Linked DNA regions of Homo sapiens: region 1 is linked to region 2. The links are contacts of gene promoters, found by promoter capture Hi-C in blood cells and fetal thymus (Javierre and others, 2016). All regions are on one chromosome and are shown on one strand. Each heading gives the region's core, a stretch centred on a gene start or on the middle of the fragment in contact. The rest is flanking DNA. Distances are from core to core; before and after follow the strand shown. Region 1 overlaps WDR33 (WD repeat domain 33). Region 2 holds the start of PROC (protein C, inactivator of coagulation factors Va and VIIIa).

The links. Contacts are between HindIII fragments. The CHiCAGO score rates a contact against its expected background, and 5 or more counts as called.
Region 1: a contact is called between a fragment that was not itself captured here and the fragment with the promoter of PROC in region 2, in 1 of 17 cell types (fetal thymus). The highest score is 5.3, in fetal thymus.

The regions. Positions count from the first base shown.
Region 1 is chr2:127,702,275-127,706,461 of GRCh38, forward strand. WDR33 (WD repeat domain 33) reads right to left here. Exons shown (of 22, transcript NM_018383.5): 22 at 1-4,187. The coding sequence ends at 4,049. SFT2D3 (SFT2 domain containing 3) reads left to right here. Exons shown (of 1, transcript NM_032740.4): 1 at 1-2,968. Among named protein-coding and RNA genes, the nearest start is that of SFT2D3, 2.9 kb to the left of the region's middle. The HindIII fragment of the contact is 1,032 bases long and covers 1,895-2,926 here.
Region 2 is chr2:127,415,414-127,419,695 of GRCh38, forward strand. It overlaps PROC (protein C, inactivator of coagulation factors Va and VIIIa), which reads left to right and starts at 3,014. Exons shown (of 9, transcript NM_000312.4): 1 at 3,014-3,079. RefSeq lists enhancers at 1-737, 1,118-1,177. The HindIII fragment of the contact is 16,432 bases long and covers 1,252-4,282 here.

The DNA.
Region 1 (4,187 bases), core at 1,161-3,660, 290 kb after region 2:
GTGGCGAAGGCCCTGCCCTAACAGCCTGCGAGTCTAATCCGGGAGCGGCTGCTGCCAGCGGAGGCGACAGCAGCGTTGGGAGCTCCTCGATGTCAGCTTTTTGTGCTGGACTTGGCACACGCTCTGAAAACTGAGATTTTGTCATTGAACTGGTGACAGGATGTGAGACGGTTATTAGAAGTTGCTTTCGAAGTAACTGTGGTCTTAGGTTCGGCTGAGTAAAGAAAAAGGATTTTTCTTCGAGTTAGCTGCTCTTGTGATTTTTCTCAGGCTGTTTTGTCATTTTAAAATCCAGTGGTAGATGTAGCTTAGCGACGGTAGTTTTTTGTTTTGGCTATACTAAGACTTGGAAATTATTCTCTCCAGTGTCAGCGAATCCAGAAGGGTATCAGATTAAACACCGAATTCAGCCACTGGACTTTTAAAAGTACTTAAGATGGTTTATCTCGGGTTTTTTCTTCAGTTAACAAAATCATAAATATGGTGCCTTATAACATGAAAGGAAAATTAGTTGTGTATTTCACGACGAAAGCGACGGACCAAAAGAAATTTCCTGCCCCAAGAAGCATGGGATCCAGGAAGGGGCGCGTAGATGCTTAACGGTCTCTTCGGAAATCCTGCAAATAGAAAGATAATTCTAGATCCGGAATACCTGTATCTGGTGGAAACCATGGATTTCTACAAGCTCGAATTATTCCTCATTGTATAGCCTGCTTTGTAAACTAGTTTACAATTTGCAGGCTGATCTTAAGATTTTTTTATATCTAATTGCTGCTGCCTTCATTTTAGGTTCAGCAGTTACTTTTAACTACCTTAATTTATTGCCAGAAGGTATGAGCCTAACATTCTGATGAGTCCAGAAAACTACGTTTTGTCAGTAGCAATACACTAGGAAGTAAAATATATTTAGAATTTAAACATTGTGTGCCAGTGGTCCTCGCGCTTGACTGCACATCAGTTACTTGAAGAGCCACACCTCAGATCAATGCAGTCAGAACCTGGGAAGTAGGTCCCAGACATCAGGACCTTTTTAAAGCTCCCCAAGTGATTCTACGTTCCCCAAGTTTGAGGACCACTTTTCTGTGCATTGGCTTGCACAATTTGAAAGTAATGCTTTTCCTGAGCTGGATCCCAGTGTTGCCTTAACAGGGTGTCTGTCGTGCCGCAGTAGAGCACTGCTGCTTCCTCCAACCCCAAAATTTATGTTCCTAAGTAAGTCAGGTCCCTAAGCCCCGTCCCAAGAAGTGACACAAGTGGCCAACATCCACACTGTAGGCTTGCAGGCTACCCGCCCTGAGATTTGGTAAAGAACACTGCCTTGTTCCCCATCAGTAAACAAGGTTACCTACCTCAGGAGGCTGCTTGTGAGAGAGCAAATGCAGTATCTTCAGAATGATTTATTTTTTTAATTAATTGTAAAGACTTGTGCCATTGGCTGCTCTTTCTAGTCCCCTAAATTTCTGTTCTAGTTTTAAATTTCTCTAGAACTTGCAATAGTTGGGGGTTTTATAATGATGTTTTACAATGTTTATTTCTTAAATAAAAACTTAAAAATTCAACATTTCTCAGCTGGTGGCTCACACCTGTAATCCCAGCATTTTGGGAGGCCAAGGCGGGAGGATCACTTGAGGCCAGGAGTTCAAGACCAGCCTGGGCAACACAGTTAAACCCCATCGCCACAGAAAATCTTCAAAAAATTTGCCAGATATGGTGGCACACAACTGTGATCCCAGCTACTTGGGGTGGGGCTGAGGTGGGAAGATCACTTGAGCCCAGGAGGTTGAGGCTGCAGTGAACTGTGATCACACCACTGCACCACAGCCTAGGCAACAGCGAGACCTTGTCTCAAAAATTTTTTCTCAAATCAAACATCATTGAAAATCTACTTTTTATAAGCTTCAAATCACAACATCTAGTATGTATGCTGACAGTGATGTTTTTAAATGCCATATATATTTAATAAGTATAATGTAGAGGTTTATTGTTTAAATGAATTCACTCTCAAAATGTGATCTGTCAAGTCCAGTAGAGCTTCAAGGTAAAATGAAAATTTTTAAATGTGATCTGGTTATCTGCTTACTGAGATACTATGTTTCTAAAGTTAAAGCCCAAAATAATGAAAATTTTTCCACTAGAATCTCAGGGAAAAAAAGTCTAATCTTGATATGGGTTTGGTCTCTGGATCCGGTTTTAGCTTCATGAAATTTGATTACAGTTTCTCTCTCTTTAAGCTATACCAGTTGGGGGTGAGTGAAGAAATACCCATAACCTAAAGCAATCTTGAGCCTCCTAATAGCATGTTTATGGTGGAGCGCTGATTAAATAAGCTGTAATTTCAAAGTTAAAAAAAAAATAGTCTCTAGATTCTAACACTGAAAAGCAGTGTATATGGCTGACATTTTCTCACTCCACAGAAATCAATTAGCTTTTGCTGTTTTTTACATTCATAGAGAACCAGTTAAATTTTCATATCCTGTTAAACTATATCAGTATGCCTTTTCTAAGCAACCATTGAAACTTCCAGCACCAGCGGCCAGGTACTGTGGCTCAGATCTGCAATCCCAGCACTTTGGGAGGCCACAGCAGGTGGACCGCTTGAGCCCAGGAGTTTGAAACCAGCATAGACAAAGTGGTGAAACTCCATCTCTACAAAAAACACACACACAAAAAATTAGCTGGGCATGGTGGCATATGCCTGTAGTCCTAGCTACTAGGGAGGCTGAGGCAGGGTCAAAGCTGAAGTGAGCCGTGATTGCACCACTGCACTCCTGGCTGGGTGACAGAGCAAGACTCTGTCAAAAAAGGAAAAGAAAAAAAGAAACTTCCAGCACCACTAAATTTGCCAAATAAATTTGACTGATGCCAAAACTGAAGCTGCCAATGTAATGAAATGTTAAGGTGGCCATAGGACAGTCCTTTTAATAAAAGCTTCCATGTAAAACCAAAATAAAGGTCAGTATAGAAAGTATCATGGGGTATATAACAAACTGAATTTTTGGCTTCCAATCCAAACTGGGCTAAATGGTATGTTTATTTTAAACAAGGAATTTGCCATGGACAAGATCTATCTGGCTTACTGTGAGTTAGAAGTACGCCCTGCCGTAACACTGGTATTTCCACATAGTATGGAAGAGGAAGAGAGGAAAACTTAATTAAGTGTTGCAAAATTGTTTGAGGACCTATTTTGGTCCATTCCTTATCAACTCCATGTGTGATTTCAAGTTATCTAAAGGGCATGTGACTTTATTTCTGACTAACATCAAGTTCCTCTCCTCATCATAACAAGGCGATTCAAACCTAAACTGTGATTCTTAGGAGATGCTTCCAAGGGGAAGCTCCCTCGTTGGACATCCAGAAGATTGCATTTTCTCTTCAGAGTACAATTTTCCATCTGTCAGAGCATGTCTGAATAAAAATTTGAACCTACTACAAACTACATTAGAATAATTTTCAAGTATTTTTCTGTCACAAAAATGGTGTGACAGAATGTGTTGAAAAACACAAAGTTCACAGCTGAGATTAATTTAGATAACCTAGTGGTTAATATGCTCATGAACATCAGCAACAACCGTGCATTCCTTGGCAGATGGGATGCGATGGAAACCAAAGGTTTCCTTAAGGCAAGCACTTCACAACTAGTTTTCTGTCAATTCTTGCGTAAATCACATTCTGTATTCATACAAAAACTTTGTTTTTCTCTGACAAACTGTACACATAGAAACAAATTTCCAAATGGACAGGAACTTAAATTTGTGGAGATGCCCCATGTCTTGTGAGACTTAAAAAAAAGAAAAAGATCCCAGCTTTTATCTTCACAAAACAACATGGGAGTTGGGGCAATGAGGGTGGACAGGACAGGGCCAGCCAGGCTGGTAGCTGGCAGCAGTCTCTTCATCTTGAAGACCTCATTGAGGGTTCCTGGGATTCAGGTGCCCAGAAAAGAGTTCAGGGCTACAATGGTGCAGGCTTCCTTTTGTTTCTCTTGGTGAGTCCACAAGAAGTTCTTACATACTGTCCAGAGAGGCCTCAGGGTACTCAGTTCCAGCTTCTACCGACCCCTTCCACCACCCCGTGAAGCTCCTCGCCTCGGCGGGCCAGAGTTCATGTTACTCCCTCTACCCCAGTTACTGCCACTCCGGCCCCCTCGAGAAGGGGTGCCACTGCCTGGAGGGCCCCCAAAAGGTTCA
Region 2 (4,282 bases), core at 1,764-4,263:
AAAAATTTTTAAAAATCAGCTGGGCGTGGTGGCACGGGCCTGTGATCCCAGCTACTGAGGTGGCTGAAACAGAAGAATCGCTTGAGCCCAGGAGATCTAGGCCGCAGAGAGCTGTGATCCCGCCACTGCACTCCAGCCTGGGTGACAGAGCCAGAGAGACCCTGTTTCAAAACTTTTTTAATTAAAAAATTAATAAAAGATTTAACGTGACCCTTATAACAGTCACCTGAGACGGACGCTGACCCCATTTTACAAATGTGGACATTGAGACACAGGGAAGTTAAATCCCCCTGTCAGAAAAAGGCTAGCGGAGGTTTAAGGCCGTGGGAACGTGACTCCAGAGCTGAGGGCTTTGGAACCCCGCCTGCTCCGGTAGTTGTGGCTGGCCTTGCCCCACACACATTTGGTTCTAGCTCCTTTGCTTGGGTCTTCATCCATGCAGCGAATTCCTTAGCCACAGGTGTCCCTCTGCTCTCTAACTCACAGCGAGCTCGCTGCCCAAAGTCCTGCTCCGGCTTCCTGGGTGGACCTGACCGCGTTCGGGTGCACGTGGGGCGACTCACACCTGACAAGTAAAGCGGGTGAGGCCGCGCCTGTGAAGGGCGCCTGGCTCCTCCGCAGGAGCGGTGCGGCGCGGCGCCCCCGGCTGGAACCAGGTGTAACTGCAGAGACCCTGGGATCGCAGGAACGGCTGGCGGCAGGACTGTCCCTACCTCGAGAAGGTGACGGGGTTTCCTGCGCTGCCAGCCGATGAGGCGGCCGTGACGCAGCCCGCCGTGCAGAGTCCCCGTCGGCCGACAGGCGTGCAGAGCTCTGCAGAGGACCCTTCCGCCCTCTGGGCAGCCTGCCAAGCCGTGGCACCCCCAACCCCCAGCACTGGGCACTTGGGAGCATTGCAGCCGCCCTGGCTCGTACCGGTGCCGGTGCTTTGGGCACCTGGGCTGGTTTGGACATGGGTGCCCCGGGCAGAGTCCATTTATGCAGGTCAGAATCAGTGTGTGGAGCCTGCATAGACTTGCCCTGGAGCGGCTGCCTGTGCTGGGGTGGGGAGGAGTAGAGGGCGAGAAGTTGGTGGGGAAGGGAAGCGGCGCCAAAAGAATACCCACAACATCTTGCACCTGGAAGGCAAAGCAGAGGGCAGTGATCTCTGCAGACTTGCGGGGGCGACGCCTGAAGCAAACAGGGACATACAAGCTGGTGCCTTCTGTGGTTGTGCATGGGGTCTTCATGCTTCCTGTCTGAGTTCCCAGAAGCTTGTCTCTGCTTTTCTAGGCAGCTGCCACAGCCTGTCACAAACAGCTCCTGGTTCTCCACTTCTCATAGTCTCGATTTCAAAATCCATTGCCTCACCCTCCACCTCCTCTCCACCTCCACCCCTCCTAGCACCTCCTGACTGCTTGTGTTCTGTGTCTCCCCACTGTCTCCCAACCTGGGGTGGGGTTGGGGGGGATGTCTTTCCTCCTGTCTGCTCTTTGATGTCCAGCTGAAGTGTCACCTCCTACAGGCAGCCTCCCCTGGCTATGCCAGCTTGTACTGATTGCCCTCTCCTCTGAATTCTGTAAGCATTTCCTATGTGTACCTGCCCCTGGGCAAGGTGGGCCTGACTTGTTAGAGTGTTAGAGTTTTACCCTGTTCCTCTAGGAGGGCCTGGTACCACCACAGCCCAGCATGGTGTGGTGCCTCAGCAGGAGGCATCTGGTTACAATCAACACAAGCTGTTCCAGCCAATTTAAAGAAACTTCAGGAGGAATAGGGTTTTAGGAGGGCATGGGGACCCTCCTGCACCCGAAGCCAGGATGTGCCACCAATCATAAGGAGGCAGGGGCCTCCTTCCGCTGCTCCCTGGGACTCTCTAGGTGTCCGTGGCCTCAGTCCCCCTCTGCACACCTGCATCTTCCTTCTCATCAGCTTCCTCTGCTTTAAGCGTAAACATGGATGCCCAGGACCTGGCCTCAATCTTCCGAGTCTGGTACTTATGGTGTACTGACAGTGTGAGACCCTACTCCTCTGATCAATCCCCTGGGTTGGTGACTTCCCTGTGCAATCAATGGAAGCCAGCGAGGCAGGGTCACATGCCCCGTTTAGAGGTGCAGACTTGGAGAAGGAACGTGGGCAAGTCTTCCCAGGAACAGGTAGGGCAGGGAGGAAAGGGGGGCATCTCTGGTGCAGCCCGGTTCGGAGCAGGAAGACGCTTAATAAATGCTGATAGACTGCAGGACACAGGCAAAGGTGCTGAGCTGGACCCTTTATTTCTGCCCTTCTCCCTTCTGGCACCCCGGCCAGGAAATTGCTGCAGCCTTTCTGGAATCCCGTTCATTTTTCTTACTGGTCCACAAAAGGGGCCAAATGGAAGCAGCAAGACCTGAGTTCAAATTAAATCTGCCAACTACCAGCTCAGTGAATCTGGGCGAGTAACACAAAACTTGAGTGTCCTTACCTGAAAAATAGAGGTTAGAGGGATGCTATGTGCCATTGTGTGTGTGTGTTGGGGGTGGGGATTGGGGGTGATTTGTGAGCAATTGGAGGTGAGGGTGGAGCCCAGTGCCCAGCACCTATGCACTGGGGACCCAAAAAGGAGCATCTTCTCATGATTTTATGTATCAGAAATTGGGATGGCATGTCATTGGGACAGCGTCTTTTTTCTTGTATGGTGGCACATAAATACATGTGTCTTATAATTAATGGTATTTTAGATTTGACGAAATATGGAATATTACCTGTTGTGCTGATCTTGGGCAAACTATAATATCTCTGGGCAAAAATGTCCCCATCTGAAAAACAGGGACAACGTTCCTCCCTCAGCCAGCCACTATGGGGCTAAAATGAGACCACATCTGTCAAGGGTTTTGCCCTCACCTCCCTCCCTGCTGGACGGCATCCTTGGTGGGCAGAGGTGGGCTTCGGGCAGAACAAGCCGTGCTGAGCTAGGACCAGGAGTGCTAGTGCCACTGTTTGTCTATGGAGAGGGAGGCCTCAGTGCTGAGGGCCAAGCAAATATTTGTGGTTATGGATTAACTCGAACTCCAGGCTGTCATGGCGGCAGGACGGCGAACTTGCAGTATCTCCACGACCCGCCCCTGTGAGTCCCCCTCCAGGCAGGTCTATGAGGGGTGTGGAGGGAGGGCTGCCCCCGGGAGAAGAGAGCTAGGTGGTGATGAGGGCTGAATCCTCCAGCCAGGGTGCTCAACAAGCCTGAGCTTGGGGTGAAAGGACACAAGGCCCTCCACAGGCCAGGCCTGGCAGCCACAGTCTCAGGTCCCTTTGCCATGCGCCTCCCTCTTTCCAGGCCAAGGGTCCCCAGGGCCCAGGGCCATTCCAACAGACAGTTTGGAGCCCAGGACCCTCCATTCTCCCCACCCCACTTCCACCTTTGGGGGTGTCGGATTTGAACAAATCTCAGAAGTGGCCTCAGAGGGAGTCGGCAAGAATGGAGAGCAGGGTCCGGTAGGGTGTGCAGAGGGCCACGTGGCCTATCCACTGGGGAGGGTTCCTTGATCTCTGGCCACCAGGGCTATCTCTGTGGCCTTTTGGAGCACCTGGTGGTTTGGGGCAGGGGTTGAATTTCCAGGCCTAAAACCACACAGGCCTGGCCTTGAGTCCTGGCTCTGCGAGTAATGCATGGATGTAAACATGGAGACCCAGGACCTTGCCTCAGTCTTCCGAGTCTGGTGCCTGCAGTGTACTGATGGTGTGAGACCCTACTCCTGGAGGATGGGGGACAGAATCTGATCGATCCCCTGGGTTGGTGACTTCCCTGTGCAATCAACGGAGACCAGCAAGGGTTGGATTTTTAATAAACCACTTAACTCCTCCGAGTCTCAGTTTCCCCCTCTATGAAATGGGGTTGACAGCATTAATAACTACCTCTTGGGTGGTTGTGAGCCTTAACTGAAGTCATAATATCTCATGTTTACTGAGCATGAGCTATGTGCAAAGCCTGTTTTGAGAGCTTTATGTGGACTAACTCCTTTAATTCTCACAACACCCTTTAAGGCACAGATACACCACGTTATTCCATCCATTTTACAAATGAGGAAACTGAGGCATGGAGCAGTTAAGCATCTTGCCCAACATTGCCCTCCAGTAAGTGCTGGAGCTGGAATTTGCACCGTGCAGTCTGGCTTCATGGCCTGCCCTGTGAATCCTGTAAAAATTGTTTGAAAGACACCATGAGTGTCCAATCAACGTTAGCTAATATTCTCAGCCCAGTCATCAGACCGGCAGAGGCAGCCACCCCACTGTCCCCAGGGAGGACACAAACATCCTGGCACCCTCTCCACTG